Regions from separate parts of the Homo sapiens genome. Here regions 1, 2 and 3 are each linked to region 4. Evidence: promoter capture Hi-C in 16 types of primary human blood cells and fetal thymus (Javierre and others, 2016). All regions are on one chromosome and are shown on one strand. Each heading gives the region's core, a stretch centred on a gene start or on the middle of the fragment in contact. The rest is flanking DNA. Distances are from core to core; before and after follow the strand shown. Region 1 overlaps NCOA1 (nuclear receptor coactivator 1). Region 2 holds the start of CENPO (centromere protein O). Region 3 overlaps CENPO (centromere protein O). Region 4 holds the start of ATAD2B (ATPase family AAA domain containing 2B).

What was found. Contacts are between HindIII fragments. The CHiCAGO score rates a contact against its expected background, and 5 or more counts as called.
Region 1: a contact is called between a fragment that was not itself captured here and the fragment with the promoter of ATAD2B in region 4, in 2 of 17 cell types (monocytes and total CD8 T cells). The highest score is 5.5, in monocytes.
Region 2: a fragment that was not itself captured here is called in contact with the fragment with the promoter of ATAD2B in region 4 in 8 of 17 cell types (total B cells, naive CD4 T cells, erythroblasts and 5 more); the score reaches 7.6 in total B cells.
Region 3: a contact is called between a fragment that was not itself captured here and the fragment with the promoter of ATAD2B in region 4, in 1 of 17 cell types (total CD8 T cells). The highest score is 5.1, in total CD8 T cells.

Annotation. Positions count from the first base shown.
Region 1 is chr2:24,493,224-24,498,504 of GRCh38, forward strand. The region is part of intron 1 of NCOA1 (nuclear receptor coactivator 1); the gene reads left to right. Among named protein-coding and RNA genes, the nearest start is that of NCOA1, 4.6 kb to the left of the region's middle. The HindIII fragment of the contact is 1,154 bases long and covers 2,138-3,291 here.
Region 2 is chr2:24,792,685-24,798,077 of GRCh38, forward strand. It overlaps CENPO (centromere protein O), which reads left to right and starts at 741. Exons shown (of 8, transcript NM_001322101.2): 1 at 741-817; 2 at 1,168-1,281. The coding sequence starts at 1,236. It overlaps PTRHD1 (peptidyl-tRNA hydrolase domain containing 1), which reads right to left and starts at 707. Exons shown (of 2, transcript NM_001013663.2): 1 at 442-707. The coding sequence starts at 693. It overlaps LOC105369164 (a long non-coding RNA gene), which reads right to left and starts at 391. Exons shown (of 3, transcript XR_939843.4): 1 at 83-391. RefSeq lists an enhancer at 368-797. The HindIII fragment of the contact is 3,129 bases long and covers 2,178-5,306 here.
Region 3 is chr2:24,815,903-24,820,882 of GRCh38, forward strand. CENPO (centromere protein O) reads left to right here. Exons shown (of 8, transcript NM_001322101.2): 6 at 744-915; 7 at 1,768-1,939; 8 at 3,452-4,980. The coding sequence ends at 1,904. ADCY3 (adenylate cyclase 3) reads right to left here. Exons shown (of 22, transcript NM_004036.5): 21 at 4,822-4,946; 22 at 3,267-4,212. The coding sequence ends at 4,030. Among named protein-coding and RNA genes, the nearest start is that of CENPO, 25 kb to the left of the region's middle. The HindIII fragment of the contact is 763 bases long and covers 2,519-3,281 here.
Region 4 is chr2:23,923,352-23,928,734 of GRCh38, forward strand. It overlaps ATAD2B (ATPase family AAA domain containing 2B), which reads right to left and starts at 3,772. Exons shown (of 28, transcript NM_017552.4): 1 at 3,204-3,772. The coding sequence starts at 3,419. It also overlaps a transcript of UBXN2A not described here. RefSeq lists enhancers at 2,439-2,688, 2,787-3,705, 2,899-2,948, 3,706-4,622, 4,209-4,298 and silencers at 3,429-3,508, 3,709-4,038. The HindIII fragment of the contact is 2,488 bases long and covers 1,780-4,267 here.

The DNA.
Region 1 (5,281 bases), core at 1,465-3,964, 570 kb after region 4:
CTCCTGTACTTTGTGGAAAGGTCTAATTTGGTTTTGTGAACGAATGTCCGAAATGTTTTATATTTCTTCTTCAGACTCTATGCTTTGGGAACAGTGGGTCACAGAGAGGGTCTGAGTTGGGAATATATGGTTTAGAGAGAAAATAGAGGACTGCTGCTTATAAGAACAGGTGTTTAGTTTGATTTTTGTAGATATTTTCTACTGGTTATTTAACAACATTGAAGTTTGCTTTATAAGGTGCAAAACGTGAATTTTACGTAGCTTACACTTGATCTCTTCCTTATTTCTCTCAGAAAACCTGTAGGATTGTGCCTATTAAATTGCTTTTTGTGTGGTTTAAACCAAGAGAGTATTTTAGATCTGCAGTGGTTTTATTGGAAAAAAAAAAAAAGTGCTTGATGGAGCTAATGGTGATTGTTTCACTTAAACTAGGATTATATAGACAATGCTTCTTCCTGCCTCTTTCTGCGAACATTTGTTTTTGTTTCTCCCTCAATTCCAGGGTTTCATTTCTAGAAATCTGGGCTGCAAACAGAAGCAGCAGTTTGTATAATCCCAAGAACTTGCTTATGCCAGGAAGCTGTAAGGGTAGCATGAAGCGGGTGTGATGTAAAGACACTGCTACTACTTAAGACATTTAACTGTTGAGGGAGTCTAAGGTCAAACTTTAATTTTTGTTGAATTTCCTGTTTTCTGCTTATGTGTTAATCTTTTGGTGGGCAGAAGATTGGGTTGCTATGGTGCTAACTGGTGTATATTGTGAAAGTGCTGGCAACATTTCATGCTTTTACTCTATAGGGAAGGGTGGTAAACAAGCCTAAATAATTTAAAGATGTTGTTCTCAGAATGGAATGTTCTGTGCATGTCTTCTTGATCCTGCTAATCCAGTGAGCGGTCTTCACTAGGACTAAATGTTGAGTAAGTGATGAGGGTGGTATAGAGGTGCTGAAAGGTGGAGTGGTGGAGAGAGGGTATTGGGCATTTTCTTGAAATTCTTTTCCCCAATTCTGTATAGGGAATCTGTATACTAGACTGTGATTTATAATTGTTTTTCAAGGATGTTTTAGTTCTCCCTGCTTGGTTGTCATCAATTTCATATACCTCCTCTTAGATACTACCTCTGTTCCGTACTTTAGTTTGTCTTTTTTGCTGCGTCTCCCAAGGACTCCACATTGTTTGAATGTTATGTTGCATATCTTATGGAGTTGGCTGGCCTTAAGCCATGTGGCTTAACATAGTTTTCATTATAGGGCAGGTGTGGGAGGTCAATACAACGCACAACACGGAGTAAAATCTAAGTCATGGAGCATAGGAGATCCCCGGGACGCTCATGATTGTTTTGGCATTGGTTTTTGCCTTTTAAATATGATTATAACAGAAATTCTCAGAGGACCATCAGCTGCTTTCCTGGCAGAGGTCCAAAAATGTTTTGGAGGGTTCCATTTTGCATTACTTGCAAATATTGGATGCTGTGGTCGGTGTGGGCTCGGGTGAAATCCATGTGTTTCAGGAGGTGGATGTCAGAACACTGTATCTGATCTGGGCTGCAGAACCGTATAAATTTCTCCCTATCTTAGATTAACTTTCCTACCCATTTGGGAAGACTAGACTGTAGGAAAGGACTTTTTAAAATTGCTTCTTTCCCAGATTAGCAGTAGTTTAGCCGTTGGTGATTGGCAACTAAGGATAGGCCTCATGTTCTATTCTTAACATTGAAGATGAGGTCTAGTCATTTAAAACCTTTCCTTTTCTCTTTATATTTTAGTTAGACCTTGTGCCTTTCAACATTTGGTGTCAGAGGTCATAAAATGGCCTAGTGGCAACTAGGTACCAATGTTGGTTGCTTCATTTCATAAGGAGATGAAGGTGTTTTTTTTTTGTTTTTTTTTTTTAATAGCTTAGTTCTGGAAAATGGTTTGTGGGCTATAGTATTTGGATTAATGTATAGAAATGATTATTATATATTTCTGCAGGATACATGGCTGAATAAGGGAAATTATTATAAAACGCTGATACCAACATATAAGTCCAATTCCATAAGTTTAAGTAAAGTGAGTTGTATCCATGCTTCTTCCCCCATAACCCCATCTGCAACACAGAATTTTTGAGGCTCCTTGGAGTGATAGGCTTTTAGAAAAGCTTAGTATGGTTATCATATTTAAAAGATAAGTAGCTTATGCCAAAATAGAAGCTCTAGTCACTCGAGGAGTTATGGAAGACTCACCCTCATCTTGGATATATTTTGTTCTTACCACTCCCCGAGAGTATGTTTTAGTGTGTGGAGGGCAGGGATGTTTGGTTTTACTGAGTAGCCCTGACCTGACCATTAGGCACAGACAGGCCAGACTCATAAAAATAGGTGCAAGCACGGAAGCAAAACGCACCCATTATCAGGACCAGAATTCTAATTGTACTGGATTATCCAGTTTTTCCAGAGTGATGCTTCATTTTTGCCCTTTCAGCTTATAATTGTGGGGCAATTTTAAAGCATCTTTTAGAAAAGAAACTCTGACCAGACAGACAGAGGTGTCCTAGCTCTTCCAGATACTTAGGTTGATGTAGCCTTGAGCTGTTTAACCACACTAAACTTCAGTTTTTATATTTAAAATTGGAGTAACGTACTTGTCCTCATATTGTAATCTTTAAAATTATTAAATGTGTTTAGCATATGATTGGCACATAGACATTAATGACTAACAGGTATTTCATTAGCGAATTCATCACCAAATTCTCGCATTCTTTTCTTTGTAATTTCTCAAATTTTTTCCTTTATTTCTGGTTCTGCAATCTGGTCCTCCTGTCATTTGCACATGGAGTAATGGGAGTCACATTGACTCTGTGGGCCTGAGTTTCTTTATCATTAAATGAGCATGTTGGTCTAATTTCACATTTCTTCTTGTTTTAAAATTCTGTGATTTGTAGGTTTATAGCTGTTTGCTTGCATGCATTTACCTCTCTAATTTGTCCTACACATAATGCTGAAGAAATTCCCTTCTAAAAAAATTTTTTTATGTTATTGTTTTCAGAGGAGATTTTCTGTGGGCAAATTTATCAAATGTAAATCATTTAAACTGATTCTTTCATTTCCCATTCCAGAAAATTTGCTGTAGATGGCATATGCAGAAATACTTCGCAAACTGTAAAGTGCTACGCAATGAAGAAAGTATTATGATAATCATAGATATCTTGCGTCTTTGCTTTTACATGTTCCATTTTCTTCATTTAAATTGGATTTCCTTTATGTTCTCGTGACCTTCAAAAACAGCATCAAAGCTGGTATGTTTTCAAGAAAGCTTGATTTTTATCACTCCCTTAGCATTAGGTACTCTGTTCTGTATAATAAACTTCTCTTTCTCTCTCTTTCTTTTGAGAGAGATTCTCTTTTTAGTGTGTGTTGATTGGTTTTCCTAAACAGATTGGAAAACGCTTGAGATGCCAGGAACTACAACATTTAGAGTTAAAGAGCCTTAAATGATCATTTAGGACAGCCTTCTTAATATTACAGCTGAGCAGACTAAGTCCATGCAGATGTAGTTGGGAATAGGGTTTCTTTATGAGAGTTACTTTTTGTATTTAAAGTTACAATATTACAAAGATATTTTAAATAATAAGAATTCCTGTAAGCTTTTGAGTAATGTGTAAGCTAGGAGGAAAGGAGCATTTTTATTTTTTGACCAAAATATGACTCTCAAATATTGTAAAAAGGTATTAATTAGGAATTAATTAAGACCGTTTTCTCAAAAACTACAAAAGTACCTGTAGAAAAACGTCTGCTTTTCTTGTAAGGCCCTCATTCATAGTCAGCAAATATTTATTGAGTGTTGTCTCTGAGCCAGGTACTGTGCTAGCTCTACATATTACATTTTATAAATGAGGAAACAAGGCTCAGGGAAGTTAAGTGGCTGGCGTAAGATTGCACAGCTTATAGGTGTTAGGGATGACATTTGAGTTCAAGCCTACTGAGTGGAAATCATATTCATACCTTTCAATTGGCTTCTCTTCAAGCATGTTCGTCACACTTGGCCACATTATACTTTTTTTTTTTTCTTTCTGGACTTTCTTTCTCTTGAATACCTGTGTTGTGGAGACTCCTGCAGTCTTGTTCCTTTCTGATGACCCGGGAGCCATATATACCAGTTACTTGATGAAAATGTCACTTTAAGATTCTTGTGGGCTGGGCGTGGTGGCTCACATCTGTAATCCCAGCACTTTCAGAGACCAAGGCAGGCAGATCATGAGGTCAGGAGTTCGAGACCTGGCCAATATGGTGACACCCTGTCTCTACTAAAAATACAAAAAATAGCCGGGTGTGGTGGCGCAAGCCTGTAGTCCCAGCTACTCAGGAGGCTGAGGCAGAAGAATTGCTTGAACCAGGGAGGCGGAGGTTGCAGTGAGCCGAGATCGCGCCATTGCACTCCAGCCTGGGTGACAGAGCGAGACTCCATCTCAAAAAAAAAAAAAGATTCTTGTGCTGTTTCTGGTCTCACCTTTGTACTTCAGTAATGTTGATTCTTTGGTGCTTCTATCCAGGTAAGGTTATCTTTGGTTGGTTTTGGATTCTTAGCCATAAAATTCTGCCTCTCAAGTTTTGTTGGTATTTAAATAGCTAAAGCTTAGTGTGGTTTGGTTTTGTTTTTATTTTTTTGGAACAAATTGCTTGGTCATTCTCTGTGTTTCCACTTGTAATTTGAATGGTTGATTTTATCTTAAAATTCCAGTTTGCCTATATAGTTAAAACATTTACATACTTTTATTATCAAGCATAGATTTGATTATTTAACAGTAGGTATTCTATTGTGAATGTATGTATGTATATAAACATATCACATCATATTTGACCAGATAGTTGAAGGATGAAATGTCCTTGAGTTTTGAAAACATCTGTATGTGTAATATTGACTTTACTTTGGTGAATTTGTTTGTAAGAAACAAAAAGTTATTTGTTCTGCAATGTCTAATATCTCCCTCTCCATTCTAAATGGTACAGGTAGTCTGTAATTGAATTTCTAAGTAGCTACTCAATCATTCGGTCAAGACGTAGTTATATGAGTACGTACTTTGTTCAAGGTGCTGTGCTGTAAAAAGATAGTGGTTATTGGGAAATTAACCGATAAAATATAGATCCTGTTCTTAAGCAGATTATGACCTGAGAGAGGTGATAAGACAAACATACAAATACCTATAATAGTAATTGAATGTGATGAGTGCTGTGAGACAGGTCCTGAAACAGTGCTTTGAACATTCAGGGAGAGGGAATGATTATTGTATTTTCATTTGAGAA
Region 2 (5,393 bases), core at 2,492-4,991, 870 kb after region 4:
CCTGGTGCCTGGTCTAGCTGAAGCTAGGTTCAATTTATACTAACGTTTTTAGTATTTATTTTCAAATAATTTGGCGTCCTACCCAGGTAAATACTCAGTTTGACTTCACTTTGCACTGTCCCTTCGGGCTCGGTTTTGCAGGAGGACAGCACTTTGGGGCATGGCTTTAAAAAGTCGGCCAGTGCACAGGCGGAACAGCGGGGACACAGGAGCCACCACTTTACCGCGAGCCCAGCAGGGGGCGGAGGACTGCTGTCCACTCTTCACACAGTCAGGCCCTTCCCAAGGGCGCACCTCCAGGGAAACAGCTCCAGTCTAAATGTTAACGATCACCCCAACTCCCGCCGCACCCACTCCCCGCAGCCAGGCCTTCGGACCGAAGACCACACCCACTTCCGCCCTCGATGTCTCAGCACCTCCCCCTCCGCCCGAGTGCCTCACCTCGAGGACCACTTTGCGCATGCGCCCCAGCTCTTGGAGGTAAGCGGCTGTGTGCGGGTGGTCGCGGTGAGTGTGCAAGGCCGCGGTGGCCGCGTGACAAGCCTGCGCTACCAGTGCGCCCGCCGGCCAGGAGAACGGAGCTTGTGATAGATCCTTTCGTAACACCAAGTATTGTACCAGGACCTGCGGCTCCGCCCCAGAGGCCGCCATCTTCCTGACCACCCGAAAGGCCGGACCTACTCCCCGGTGCATCTTGGGATCAGGGCGGGGCCCTGAGCGCCGCCATGCTTTTGTACGGCAGGATCGCAAAGCACGCCGGGACCGGTTGGTTTGGTTTTGAAGACGTGGATGGCGGGAATTCTCGCTTCTGGCCTGGGTGAGCTAGAAGGGAGAAGGTAGGGGAAAGACCCATTGTCGGACCGGACCGTGGCCAGGGTGGCGGGCTGAACGGCCTTCTTAAAACTCCTTCCGTGGCCGGGAAGCCCGCTGGACCAGAGTAGCCGTGGCCTCGGGAGCGCGCCGGGGCCGCGGGATGGGCGCGGGGGTGGGCATGGACTCTGCTGGCTCGGACGATGGGAGAGGGCGGGCGGCTCAGGAAAGGGGATCCTAGCCGTGACATTTGTGTCATCCGCGGCCCAGGGGTTGTGCCTGAGTGGTGTGTGCCCTGCCGTCTGGGTTTGAATGGGACTAGATGTGATGTGACTGTTGCCATTTTTCTTTTATTAGCAAGGACATTGGAGTCCCTATCACCGGTTGCCTAGACAACTTCATGGGAAGGCCCTTGGGAATCTGAGATGGAGCAGGCGAACCCTTTACGTCCAGATGGCGAGTCCAAAGGAGGTATTCAGAGGGTCGCCGCCTCCTTCCTGCTGCTGCCCAAAGATGACCCGCAGGCTGAGAGAGCCCTTTCCTCCTGGAACTGACGTGGGACCTGGCCTGTTTGGGAGCAGAATAGTGAAAGGAACTAACATTGAAGACAAAGGGACAGGCAGCCAAGATTATTCGAGGAGGAAAAATGGCTTCGTTTCTAGGCTCCCACCCCTTTTGAAACGGATAAGTTGCATCCATCATATGCTCAGTGTTTATATTCTGAACTGCGGTTCTAGCCAGGGAGGTCCCTTTCCTCTCCCCGGATTTTTTGGGCCATGTATGCATTACTCTTGAGGGAGGGCCAGTGTAGGGCAGTGACTTTAGTGTTGGCTAGAACTGGTTTTGAGTGTTGGCTCTGCCATGATAAATATTGTGACCTTAGGCAAGTCACTTTATTCTCTGCCTCTGTTTCTTCATCTGGAAAATGGAGGTGAAAATAGCACTGTAGTTGTGGTTGTGGAAAAAGTATTTCTTTTGTGGTGGAAAAGTATTGAACTCAGACTTTTCAAGTGAAGCATTTAGCACATGTCTAATATATAGGAAATATTCAATGAAAGGCTTAATTCTTTACATACTTTGTGTCTTAAAATGTAGAAGGTGTTTAAAGAATGCTTGTTAGAGTTGCTTAGAATTACGAAACTATTACTTTTACTTAGTCCTTAGTCAATCCTTTGGAAACTGAGATTTGCGTTTGAATTTCTGTCCAGGAGTAAGTTGCTTTCTTCTTTAGTGCCTAGTAATATTTGTGGACAGTTCTGGTTTTGTGTGACTTTATGTTCTTTGCTACTAATACTTTTTAGAACTTTGAAATACTTACTCAAGCCTGATGCCTAAATCCAAAGGGTTCTACGTTAGTACTTTGGGAAAGCTTGCCATAAAACCTAACTTAAATTACAGTTTTAAAAAGAATTTCTGAGCGCGTCAGTGAATTTGGTTATCCTATTTTTCTCTGGGTCATCATTATCATTGATAACAGAGAAGTAACTATATTCAGCCTAAGATGACTTAAGCTGAGACTTTAGATAATAAAAGTATATGGGGTAAGATTTATTGTTACTTTAAGACTAAAAATAAGTTTGGTGACTTTATGTAGTGGAAACATGCTACACTCAGGAGTAACCTGTTCTCTAGTCCAGGCCTTATTTCATTTCTGTTAAAGTAAGTGATGAGGTGGAAGTTTTGGATTATCAAGAGACTTAGACCAGTCTCCTTATTCTCTACCCAAAACAATATTTAAACACTTAGCTGTTACCCATACTGGTTTTATCCCTCTGCTTGTTTGATTTCAGTTTTTTGCTTATTATTTGAATTCTCCCCACTCATTTGAGAAGGAAGGACATGGAGTTGTAGTTGCAACCAGATGATTTATTCAAATAGGCAGGGATTTTGACTTTTTTTGGGACAAAGCTGACTGGCTAGGATGAGATGCAATCATAACTTCCAAGGTAAAGCAGGCCCAGCAGATACACTCCCTCTTTTCTGTAGTAGCAACGCTAAACAACAACGCTACCCCCTTGGTGTAGAGGGAATCAGGTCGGTAAAGAAGCTGGGCAGGTTTGAGAGCCTGAGAAGAGGGCTGTGTGGAAGTGCCTAGAGAAGGAGCAGCATGATACTGTTTTGAACACCTACTTATCTCAGAAACTTTGGGAATATTGATATCTACTGTTTTAGTAATATAGAATTTCCATAAAGTAGAATTTGGTGAGGCGTCTCCTCTACCACCCTAAATTATTCTATGTGTGCGTGCTTTTCAGATCACCTCCTGGTTGGACATTAATTTTTGTAAGCTCCGTGAGGACAGGGACTTCGTTTTGCCACCACAGTATGAATAACTTCCAGCACGGTCCTTGGTCCATAGTAAATTCTCAATGCATAGTTGTTGGATAAATAGAGATTGGTGAATAAAGCAGTTAATCACGTGCTAATTATTAGGACTAATTTATTTAATTAGAATTTTGGTTTCTCACGATTATTATTGCGGTAATGTGGGTTTTTCTGTGGACATGAGCCAAGTGAATGTAATCTCCAAGAGTGTCATGCCTGGTTGTCCGTGTTTCGGTAAACATTTCCGGAGTGTTGGCCGGGCGCGGTGGCTCACACCTGTAATCCCAGCACTTTGGGAGGCCAAAGCGGGTGGATCACAAGGTCAGGAGTTCAAGACCAGTCTGGCTAACATAGTGAAACCCCATCTCTACTAAAAATACAAAAATTAGCCGGGCATCGTGGTGCATGCCTGTAGTCCCAGCTAATTGGGAGGCTGAAGCAGGAGAATTGCTTGAACCTGGGAGGTAGAGGTTGCAGTGAGCTGAGATCGCGCCACTGCACTCCAGCTTGGGCAACAGAGTGAGATTTCGTCTCAGAAAAAAATAACCATTTCCGGAGTGTTTACCATGTGTAAACACTTTGTGCTAGGGTTAAGGGATCCATGGGTGAACACAAATGCACACGGTCCCTGATTTTGGAACTTTAAGGTTCAGTGGAAAAGATAAGCAAATCAAATAATCACACTAATGAATATACAATTAAAACTATAGTGGCCGGGTGCGGTGGCTCACGCCTGTAATCCTAGCACTTTGGGAAGCCGAGGTGGGAGGATCGCTTGAGCTTAGGAGTTTGAGACCAGCCTGGGAAACATAGTGAGACCCCATCTCTTTATTTAAAAAACAAAAACAAAAAAACTATAGTATTGTCTCAGAAGGATCTTTGAGAGCTTATGAGCTGGCACCTGACCTTGTTCTGAAGGTGCTACAAAGGTTTCCCTGAGGAAATGCTGCTTGCATTGAGTGCTAACGAGCTAGAGTAGCTGCAGGTGAAGGTGGATAAGGGGCGGCTGTGGAAGAGCCTTTGGTGTGTGTGTTGGGGGTGGGGGGATCAGGTCAGTAAAGACGCTGGGCGGGTTTGAGAGCCTGAGAGGAGGCCTGTGTGGAAATGCCTAGAGAAGGAGCAGCATGATACTGATGAGGGTAAGAGAGATCCAGAGGCCAGTAGGCCTCGTAGGCAGTGTGAAGTCATCGAAAGGCTTTAGCCAGCTGGATGACACGATCCAGTTTAGATTTTGAAATATGGCTTCAGTGTATGGGCCACCTAGGAAACTTGTAATAGGCCAGAAATGGTAGTAGCTTGAACTACAATGGTGGCATTGCAGATGGGGAAAATGGAAATATTTTAGAGATACTAGGAATGTATATTCAATAGGATCTGGTAATGGATTGGGACTGGGTCAGGGAGAAGGTGTGAGGAAGAAAGTACTGGTTTACACAGCTATAGATGGATAATGGTTCCAGTCATGGAGGGGTTTAGAAGGGGAGATGATGAATTCAGTCTTGGACATGTTGATTGTCAGGTTCCTGTAAGTCTTCCAAGTAGATACACTGAGAAGGCAGGTGGATATTCTGCTTTCTCAAGAAGCAGGAGAGAGGTATAAGCTAGAGATACATATTTGTGTGGCATCGACATGTATGGCCATTAAGGCTGTGGGTACTGATGAGATTTCTTCTGGAAAGAAGAGGTCTTAGGACTGAGCTCTGGAAAATTTCAGCATTTAATGGTCAAGGAGGAGAGTAGGAGCCTTCAAAGCAGAAAGTGGGGTCAGAGAGGTAAAATGTAAGTGTCACAAAAACAGGTTGTCTGTTGTTCATCACTATGTTCCCAGTGCCTGAAATAGTACTTGGCACAAAATAGATGCTTAATAAACATCTGTTGAACAAGGCATACCAACAGGCCGCTATGCTAAGATTCAGAGGAAAAGAGGGTTTCGTGAAGGTGGTGATCAGTAGGAGCATATAGTGCTGGGAGGTGAGATAAGGGAGCTTGAAAAATGTCCTTTGGGTTCAGCAACATGGATATCACTGTTGATCTTAGAGTGGTTTTGTAAAATAATGGGAACAGAAGTGAGTTTCAAGTGGGTTGAGGTATGAGTCACAGGCAAGAAAATGGAGAAAGTGAGTACAAGTTGAGCACTGAAGATCCAAAATCTGAAATACTCCAAAATCTGAAGCTTTTTGAGCACTGACATGATGGTCAAAGGAAATGCTTATTTCCAGTTTTGGATTTTCAGATATGGGATGTTCAGCCAGTAAGTG
Region 3 (4,980 bases), core at 1,650-4,149, 890 kb after region 4:
GCACTATCCCACCCTCTTTTCTTTTGAAACTCTGGATGGCGTTGAAGCCTGGGTACTGGTTAAAGGATTATGCACCCCTGAATGGTGGTCTTCAAGCTTTTATCGTAAGATTGTACAGAGTGCAGTTGCTATACTTTTGATCCATCAGGGATTTATGGCGTGCCTACTATGTACCATACCGAGTGCCTTGCTGAACCTTGGGTATAGATCTCATTAGAGAAGAAAGGTTTCTGCAGTGCCATGGAACAATGCTGTCCATCTTCCCCTAAACTCTAGCCTACCTTTTTGGGTTGCAGTTGAGCTAAGGTTGGGTGAAAAAAGTAGATAGGAAATTAATGCAAATAGGCTGTAAGTGCCTCCTACAAGCTTAGCATTTCCCCCTCTATGGATTTGGAGTAACTCTGAAGCTCTCAGCTGTAGATTTAACTTAAATTGAAATGTGGATGCAGTCATGAAGCATCTTAGCCGTGTAACGTCAGTGAAGTTTCTGCAGAAACAGTCTCTTGCGAAGCTGTACCCCTGGCCATTTAGGCCTATAGGCCTTTCCAGGCTGCCAGTGACTCTTAGTTATCTTAGGCATCTTTTTCATTAGTCCTTTTTTCAGACCTTTTTCTGTCCCTCATTTATTTCTCTGAAATGTAATCGATGGGCCTCTTTTTGGTTGACGTAATTGAAGGGTCAGTAAACACCACCTTTGGAACTGCAGTCATCCTCTACTTCGTTTTGTTCCTCACCCCTCTTAGAGTGACTTTGCAGCCCTCCTGACTGGGCCCTTGCAGAGAAACCCACTGTGTAACTTGCTGTCATTTACTTACAAACTGGATCCAGGGGGTCAGTCCTTCCCGTTCTGTGCTAGATTGCTGTATAAGGACCTCACAGCAACTCTTCCCACTGACGTCACCGTGACATGTCAAGGTAAGAAGGGTGCCTCAGTGCAGAAATTCTCATATCCCAGTTTATTTGAGTGAAACAGGGAAAATAGGTAGAATCCATGAAGTAGACCTCTTGAGACACTTTCTCTGTTTATATACTGTACATTACTCAGACCGGTAAGATAGAACATTCTTGTTTCTACCAGTCTTTTCCTTCCTCTTTGTAAATGGTAAACATGATTGTCCCCATTTTCCCTTCTCCTTTGCCCACCCACCTCAGCAGTGTTCTCGCAGCCTATGATTTGTTTTCACTGGGGGCCCTGCTTCAGGAAAGACACCTAATGATAAGGCTGAGTCATGGGTCAGTTATGGTGGATGGAGCCAGAAGACTCATTTCACTGTGAAGACAAATGGACATGACACGTCAGCACACACTTACTCCTCCCTACGGAGCAGTCTCTAAATGGAAATCCTTCCAGACTGGCTGAGAGAGAGATTTTTTGGTGAACCTGTTTCAGTTAAATGTGACATGGGCAATAATGAAAAATTGGGTGAAATGTTTTTAGGAGGCAGAAATTTTGAAGCTGCCCCAGATTTCACACCATCGGTCTTTGATTTCTCTGCGCAGTTAGATTCCAGTCCCCAGTCTCTAGATTGCATTGGTCCAGTAAGGGGCAGCCTTAGTCCAGACCAAAAAAAAAAGCTGTATGGGTCCAGTGGGTCCAGAATATCAGTGATCCAGGTTCCGATTCCCCCAGCTGCACTGAGTGAGATTGAATGTCAGTGATCCAGGCTCCGATTCCCCCAGCTGCACTGAATGAGATTGAATATCAGTGATCCAGGCTCCGATTCCCCCAGCTGCACTGAATGAGATTGATGGAATCTTTCTTTTTAGGAGTGGAAGTATTATCCACTTCATGGGAGGAGCAACGAGCATCTCATGAAACTCTGTTCTGTACGAAGCCCTTGCATCAAGTGTTTGCCTCATTTACAAGAAAAGGAGAAAAGTTGGATATGAGTCTGGTCTCCTAATAGATTGTTTTCACTGCACTGGGAGCACATCAGAGGTAAGTAACCAGTACTGAAGACAGTACCAGGTGGGTAGTACTGTCTGATGAAGGGTACATCACCCTTCTGATGAAAACAGACACCTACCTGTTCATCTGGATGGAAGAGCAGGTTTGAGTATAGACACTGGCATTTTTGAACAATTCCCATGATCACCTGGTCCCTTCTTAAAATGCTCAAGATGTTTTTTAAAGGTATTAGTTGATCATACATTTTAGTTGAAAATCATTTGTGGGGCAATAAAAGCCATTTTTTGAAAAAGGTGTATCACTCAAGAAGTACTTATGGAAAAATATCAAATTATTGAGGGCATTAACTCTGGGAAAGACCAGGCAATTAAGTTGTCACAGTAACTGCTACTAATTTAATGCCAGGAATAGAGATGCCAAAAATCCTAAAATTTTCAGAAAGGGCTCTCACAGAAATGTAGCACTCCACTCAAACTGCAATAGCTTGATTCTGTTGAGAAACACTGATCTAAATAAATGGAAAAATAACCCACATTCACTAATGAAGATAATAAGGAAGACCCAATATTTTTTTTTTTTTAAAAGGAAAGTATTTTTAGCTTTTATGAAAGCTTTAAGTAATTTTTCCTCATTTTCCTGTTTGAAACTTTTGAAAAGGAAGTTCTTCAGTGTTTGTTTGGTTAGGCGCAGTGTATTCTAGGCCACTGCTTTATAAATATGGTGTGAGAAAGCAGTAGGATAAAATAATCAGAGTTCAGTGTGTCTCATATTTTGTTTCCTAAAAGTTTAGTAGAGCTGTGAATGTACTAGGAAGTCCCCTCTGAAAAAGCACAGTTAGTTAGTTAGAAATCTGCCCATTAACTCAGGGGGACTCAGGCGCCCCCCGGGTCTTCCCTCTCCTGCAGGCTCTCCGGTTAGTGTCCTGATTTGCCGTAACCACGGGCCTCTGACCTGCTGGCACCTCTGGTTCCTTGGCGTGTGGGTCACTCACAGATATGAAAACCTGTGTCTGGCTGACCAGGTTCTCCTGTAGCCCTCCCTTGCCCAGGCACAGATAGGAGTCATGACTGGCCCAAGGCCACGTTCAGACTTAACCCTGCAATGGCCACGAAGTAACCTCCGTGTGGGAGAGCTCCAGGAACAGTGCAGGGGATTAAAGCCAGCTTGGAGTACCCTTTAGAAGAAAGTTTAAGAATAAAAGAGACAGGGCCAGGCAGCAGGCGTTCCGGGGTACAGTGAGCTATGATGAGACCTTCAAGCTCTTGCCTTCCAGGCCTGTGGTGGGGACCAGTGGCATGAGTCAGCAAAGTACCAGCACTCCTCAGATAAGTGATATTAACAGAATTTCCACAATCACTTTCAAGTTGAATAAAGCTTTTAATAAAACAGTCTTGTTCTTTATCAATACCTGTAAATTCTCTTAAAGCAGTAGCAAAGGCGACTGTAGCAAGAGCTCAAAAGGCAAGGCAATATCGGAAAGTGTATTTAACAGAAGATTAAAAATATAAATGTAGAAGATCTGTTTATATATTTTTCTTTCAGAAATAAATCCCCCCTCCCCTGCCAGGTGAAAGGAAATATTGCACTTTCTGTTCTCATGACTAAGGGGACAGGAGTTCCAGAAGAACCTTTCAAGATGATCAGGAACACCAGGACGAGGGCCGTCTCACCTCACTCGGACCACATGGAGACCTCCCTTCAAAATGGGAGCCATGTCCTGCCCCACCAAGCCCTGTCTGAAGTGGAGCTTCCCCGCCTGTGCTCCCTCCACAGTCCCGGAAAGCCCAGCGGCAAAGGCAGCTTTGTCCCAGCTCTGCCACCCTCCTGCTCACAGTGGTCAGGGCCCCTCAGGGGCAAGGACGGCAGGGATTGGAACGAGGGCTCTGGAAGGACTGTTCAGCCCTATGCCTAAGACCCCTATGCTGGGGACACTACAGGCACACACAGGAATAGCAGGGCCACCCTCAGAGCTCACACATCCACGAACAAATGAAGGCTGAGGAGGTTTCTAAACCTAAAGTCCATGAGTGTGCACTTCAATCCAGGAAGGTCGGGACTTCCTTCAGTTTCAAAAAATAAATTCTCCCTTCCGGTTTGGACTGTTGCAGGCTCGAGGCCATTCAGGAGTTGTCCACCACCTGGTGGGGCAGTGTGACAGAGGGGCCATTGGGGAAGGTGGCTAGCTTATCCCGCCCCTTCAAGAAGAAGGTCAGCAGCTCCCCCTTCCCCTTCACAAAGATGGGGCCTCGCCTCACAAAGCGGAAGCCGTACTCTCGGAGGATGACTTGGGTTTCTTCTACCACCTGGAGAGGGAGGGGGAGCAAGAACGTGGCGTTACGGGGGGAGCCTAGACTGAGGGCGGGTGGGGGCTTTGGGTGGTTGGAGCCGAGCACTGATCCATGGGTCCCAAGCAGTACGGGACACTCCCCAAACCTCCCAGGGCCAAGCCCTTCCACCCGTGGCGAGCAGCGGGTGGGAAGGAGAACCCTGGAGTGACTGGCTGGGGGCCTCCTCTCATCCAGAGACTTCTCTCCTAGGATGGCCATGGTCACCTGGGTGGCAGCACTGTTACCTGGAAACTGCCACTGCCTGCTCTTCTGTCCCTTTGCCCCTTTCGTGGAGCTTTTCTGCCAGACGCCACTGAGACAGATCACAAGGTATTAGAAGGTTCATACCCAAAGGTAGGCCATATGCATCTAGAACTTCAGCCCAGATTTTGTGGATGGGTGGAAGTGTTTCTTCCTGTGCTGAGGCTAGCTATTGCAGAGATTCTTTTCCACTTGCCCCACGTCTCTGCCTCTGGACTTACTGTTCAGGGCCAGGGTGGGAGGCAGGGGCACGTGGGAAAGCACTGTTCCGGTTTTGTTCTCATGCCGAGTCTGAGCACGTGCCAGCTGTGCCACTGGACATACCTGAATGTTGCCCATGACCCCCGTGGACTCCATCCTGCTGGCTACATTGACTGTATTGCCCCAGATGTCGTAGTGTGGTTTCCGGGCTCCGATGACCCCAGCCAGAACCCCGCCTTTGTTCATGCCTAGGGTAGAGGCATAAAGTTCAGCACAGCCACA
Region 4 (5,383 bases), core at 2,522-5,021:
CTTGTGGGGGGACAATCAAGTTTCACTTATGCCAGATAAGTTCTGGAGATCTATATAGCATAGTGCCTACATCTAAGAATACTGTATTGCATACTTAAAATTTTCTAAGAGGGTAGATTTTATATCAAGTGTTCTTACCACAAAAATAATACTAATAATACATTCATAATAAAAGGGACAGGGAAACTTTAGGAATGACGGACATGTCTATGGTGTTGATGCGGTGGTGTTTTCACAAATATATACTTATCTCCAAACTCACAGAGTTATATACACTAAGTACCACCTTTTACATGTCAAAAAAAAAAAAGGCTTTTCATACCGAAAAAAAGAAAAAGAAAATAATTCCAATAATCGGCAGAATGCATATTTTCCCCCATCCTATGCATATACTACTTGGGAAAAAGACAAAACTTTAAGAAAAGCTCATAGCGCTATGACTTTTTAAAGCAAATAAAATGTCTCTGGACACAGTGAATGAAATAATCTAAAAACAGGGAAAAGGGGGAAAAATAGGCATCAAGTGTAGTTAGTTAAGAACATGGCACAGGCTGGGCGCGGTGGCTCACGCCTGTAATCCCAGCACTTTGGGAGGCCGAGGCGGGCTGATGACGAGGTCAGGAGATCGACACCATCCTGGCTAACACCGTGAAACCCCGTCTCTAATAAAAATACAAAAAAATTAGCCGGGCGTGGTGGCGGGCGCCTGTAGTCCCAGCTACTCGGGAGGCTGAGGCAGGAGAATGGCGTGAACCCCGGGGGGCGGAGCCTGCAGTGAGCCGAGATCGCGCCACTGCACTCCAGCCTGGGCTACAGCGAGACTCCGTCTCAAAAAAAAACAAACAAACAAACATGGCACAAAAGCAGAAAAAGGAGAAACTCCTCAATTACAAACAGGAATATTATGTTACAAACAGGAATACATTTCTTTCTACAAAAATAAGGGTCTGCGAAAGCAACAACACGGGCAACCCCATTTTGCACCAAATGAGACTTTACAGACACTGGCAAATGCTTATTACAGACCCCACAGACATAGAGGGTGTCTTTAAGTACTCCAGAAAGGGTGAACCAGGAGTGCTAAATTCCTACAAAACTGGAGAAGAGCTAACCAGAAATATACAACCTGCTTCATAAATATATAGTCCATAAACTTAATAAATTCAGAATTATAATTTATCCTCTTCTAAAGGTCCAATCACTATGTAAGAGTAGTTACGTCTCTAAAAAAACCTTTCAGAGAAAGCAATTAGATGACTACATCATCTCCTAGAGCCGAACATAAATCTTCTTAAGACTGAAAAACAAATATTTCAAAGTAAATCTTTAGTACCCTGTTATTTATGGTGCTTTAAAACATTTTAAAAGGATCTTTGAAACAAAGTTTCATTAGTACCCTTCTACAAAGAGCTCTCATATCTTTCATTCTTTTAGCAATTTAAAAGCTACCAAATGTTCATTTCCTCATTAGATTATTGATTCCTAGCCTTTTAACATCTCTATAACAGCTGCTTGACAAATTACCTCACCTTATTCCTCGGGGGGTGAGGACAGCATGATATCCATGAATTCAAAAATGGGACCACAAACTGATGAGTGAAGATGAGCTAATTGCTTCAGATGAGTTAGACACTGCTCTAACAGACTAGGCATTCACATAGCATGATACGATTAAATGCTTACACCCTAAATATTTTCTTTGTCCTTAAATGTACAGAAAAGATCTTTTCTTAAATTGAGTTTTATTTTAAAATATGTGATAGCCTCAGTAGGTCAAGAAGCTTGAACATGTTTGGAATAGTTTCCACCGAAAGCCTCGTCTTCAAAGTACTTATTCTCAACAGTTTGCACAACTTTCAGATTTAACCTTATTTCAACCTAAGAGAGCTGTAAGCCCCCAAAATAGTCTATTAAATAGGACGTTATAATGCCCAAAATTTTATCAAAGAAAAGCCAAAACGATTTTCAAAGATATAATAAAAATATTTCAGAGTAGTATGGTAAAATATTCCTGTCTCTGCCTAGATCCATTCTGTTAGTGTCAAAACAGTGTAAGACACAAAGAAAAGCACACACAAACCGCGATCTTGTAGACCCCTAGAACATAAAATATTGCTTTCCCCCAATAAGAACCACAAAATGGTGTGGAATTAAAGGAGCATTTTAAATGAACAGCTTTTTCCAGCCAAATTACTTAGCAAGTCAACCTCTTTTAGACAGAAGCAATACACTCTTCTCTGAATTCAGAAACAATCTCATAGTAAAACAAACGTGTCAATTCCTTTAAAACAATAAATATCTGTGCTTAGCTTTATAATGTAGGTAATAAAATTTCAAGATCTTTCAATCAGTTTTTTAATTCAATCACCAGCGTCTTTAAATGTCATTTTTGCAACTGCATGACTATGGTGTTCATTCACCTTTTGTAATATAGTCCCATAACAAAAATGTAGACACCCAAGAAACCACACAGTTTTGGCATGATGGTGCTGACTATCCGAAACATTCCACTTGTTTCTTTCGACGTGCTCCTTCTGTGACCTGAAAGCTCTGGTTCCTACTAGCACCTTGGTGAGCTAGCTGGCTGGTTCCCCAGCTATAATATCATGTTTGATCTCTCCTGCCTGGAGAGGCGATAGCGTTGATTTTGTTTTTAAAGTTGGTGTCAGAGCAGCTACAAACTTTTTTCAGCATCCCTGCCTGGCTGCCAACTGGAGCTCTCTGTTCACTTCCTCACCAACTTGAACCACCCCCAAACTGAGAGTAAGCTGGAGTTAGACAGCGGCAGGAACTGACACACTTTCAAGAAGGGTTTGACACCGCAGAAAACTTTCACTTCTCCAACCCTTCCACCCAGGGGCTCTGGCCCTTCGCTCTTGCTTCCCCGCTAGAATTCCCCTCTGGGGCAGGACAAGGACACGGACAGCAGATCGTTCGAATGACGCCGAAAGGGACCCCCAAAGCCCTCTCCCCTGGACTCAAGGGCTGTTCTTCACACAAAAGAGCCGGGCCAGCTTGAAAAGCAAAGGGGCCAGCGTCGCGGCCCTTCTCTGGGTGCCACCCTCCACCGCGCCCGCAGACCCTGTCTCCAGCCGCCCGAGCGGTCTCCACTGTAGGCTTCCTACCCCCAACCCGGCCAGACAAAGCCCCGGCAGCAGGGCCGGCACTTCCGAGCCTCCGGACTCGGGACGCCGCGCTCTTACCCTGGCCTCATCCAGAGTGACGCCGGCGCCACCGCTTCCCCCGGCTTTGGCGGCGGGGCAGCTGGCGGCGCGGGTCTTGGAGGAGCGGGTCCGAGAGGAGATGAAATGGCTGCTGCCTCCGGTCGCCCCAGGCTCTGCTCCGGCCCCAGGCCCAGGCCCGGGACCAGGAGACTTGGACCCGAGAAGGCGGAGAGAGCTCTTCCGGGTGTTCACCATGGTCCAGCCAGGGGGACGGAGTCCACGCCGCGCCCGGGAGAGCCGAGCAAGGCCGGCCCGCCGGCCGGTCAGTCAGGGCCAGCGGAGCCGAGCCGGGCAATGAGAGACGAGCCGGCCCGGAGCGTGCGGAGCGCAGACGAGCACAAGAGAGAGCCGGGCAGAGGAAGGGAAGTCGGCGTGAGCAGGCGGCGTGCGGGAAGCGGGGGCGGTGCTGCAGACCGGCAGCACAGACACTCCGCCGGCTTCGCCCTCCTCAGCGGGAGCCGAGCGGAGCCGCCATTTCTACCCCTTTCTCTCCCGTTCTCGCTCTCGAGCTCCGTGCGTCAAGGCTCCAGCGCCGCAGGGCCAACGAGACCGCTTCCGGCCGCAGCCACGGCGGGGCGCTGCGAAGCCGGCCAGCCCTTCCCGGCTGCTCGCTCCTCTCCCTGCCGCCTCCAGCTGCCCCGCCCCCGGCGCGGCGTCAGCGCTCGGCGGCCGGGGAGCGACGCTCTAGGCTGTCAGCTCGGTGGTTTCCAGCTCTCCCCGACCGCAGGGCTGGGGCGACCAGAAAAGCCAGACTAATCAGGACGAGTTCGGGCGTGGAATTGGGCCTGAAGCCCTCATGCCCAGCCAGGCCTGAATGCCCCAGACCCCACCGTCACCCCCGTGGCCTGGATGGAGCAGGGGACGGCCGGCGAAGGCGCGGGGTGGAAGGGGAGCGGCGACGAAGGCGCGAGGAGCTGACTGGGAATCCCCAAGCTACCCGAGGCAAGACACTGAACTTGAGTCGCACTTTTCATGCCTGTAGAAATGAGAATGACAGCTGTGATAAAAAAAAAATTCATCTGGGCGGTATCTGGAACTTGGTAAGCTTAAGAAGAGAAGGGGGGGGGGAAACACCATGCTAGAACTCTGCGTTTTTAAACAAAGCGAGGCAGGGTCGTTTTCTATCCCCTTAGCCAGATCTAAGGCGGAGCCAAAGAATGAGTACCCTGTAAGAGCCGCCTCTATCGCCGCCCCCTGCCCCCGGCCCGCTGAAGAATTAAGAATACAAAAAGCTGAACCCACAGATAAAGCATTTGCAATTTAACTTCCAAAGAAAAAAAAATTAAGCCACACAATTCATATGAAAAGCTCTGCTGTAGGCCGGGTGCGGTGGCTCAAGCCTGTAATCCCAGTACTTTGGGAGGCCGGGGTGGGTGGATCACCTGAGGTCAAGAGTTCTAGATCAGCCTTACCAACATGGTGAAACCCTGTCTCCACTAAAAATACAAAAAATCGATGGGTGTTGTGGTGGGCACCTGTAATCCCAGCTGCTCGGGAAGCTGAGGCATGAGAACCACTTGAACCCAGAAGATGGAGGTTGCAGTGAGCCGAAATCACGCCACTGCACTCCAGCCTGGATGACAGAGCCAGACCCTGTCTCAGAAAAAAAAAAAAGAAGAAAGAGAGAGAGAAAGGAAGAAAGAAAGGAAAGAAAGAAAGAAAAAGAAAGAAAGAAAAGCTCTGCTGTAAAGTAGGAATTAGGTTCATTTCAAAAATTCACAGTACAGGCCGGGCTTACGCCTGTAATCCCAGCACTTTGGGAGGCCAAGGCGGGCGGATCACTTGAGGTCAGGAGTTCGAGACCAACCTGGCCAACATGGTGAAACCCCCTCTCTACTAAAAATACAAAAAATTAGCCAGGTGTCGTGGTGCATGCCTGTAATCCCAGCTACTTGAGAGGCTGAGGCAGGAGAATCGCTTGAACCCGGGAGGCAGAGATTGCAGTAAGCCAAGATCGTGCCACTGCACTCCAGCCTGGGTGACAGAATGAGACTCCATCTCAAAAAAAAAAAAATAAAATTCACAGTACATTAGACATAGCCTACTGTTTATTGGGCAGGAGTTTATTAAACTGTTTATTAAACTAAGAAAAATTGAAAACTCAGGAAAAGTCCTGAAAATGACCAAATGGCATCAAACTTAGAGCATTCTGGCCATCT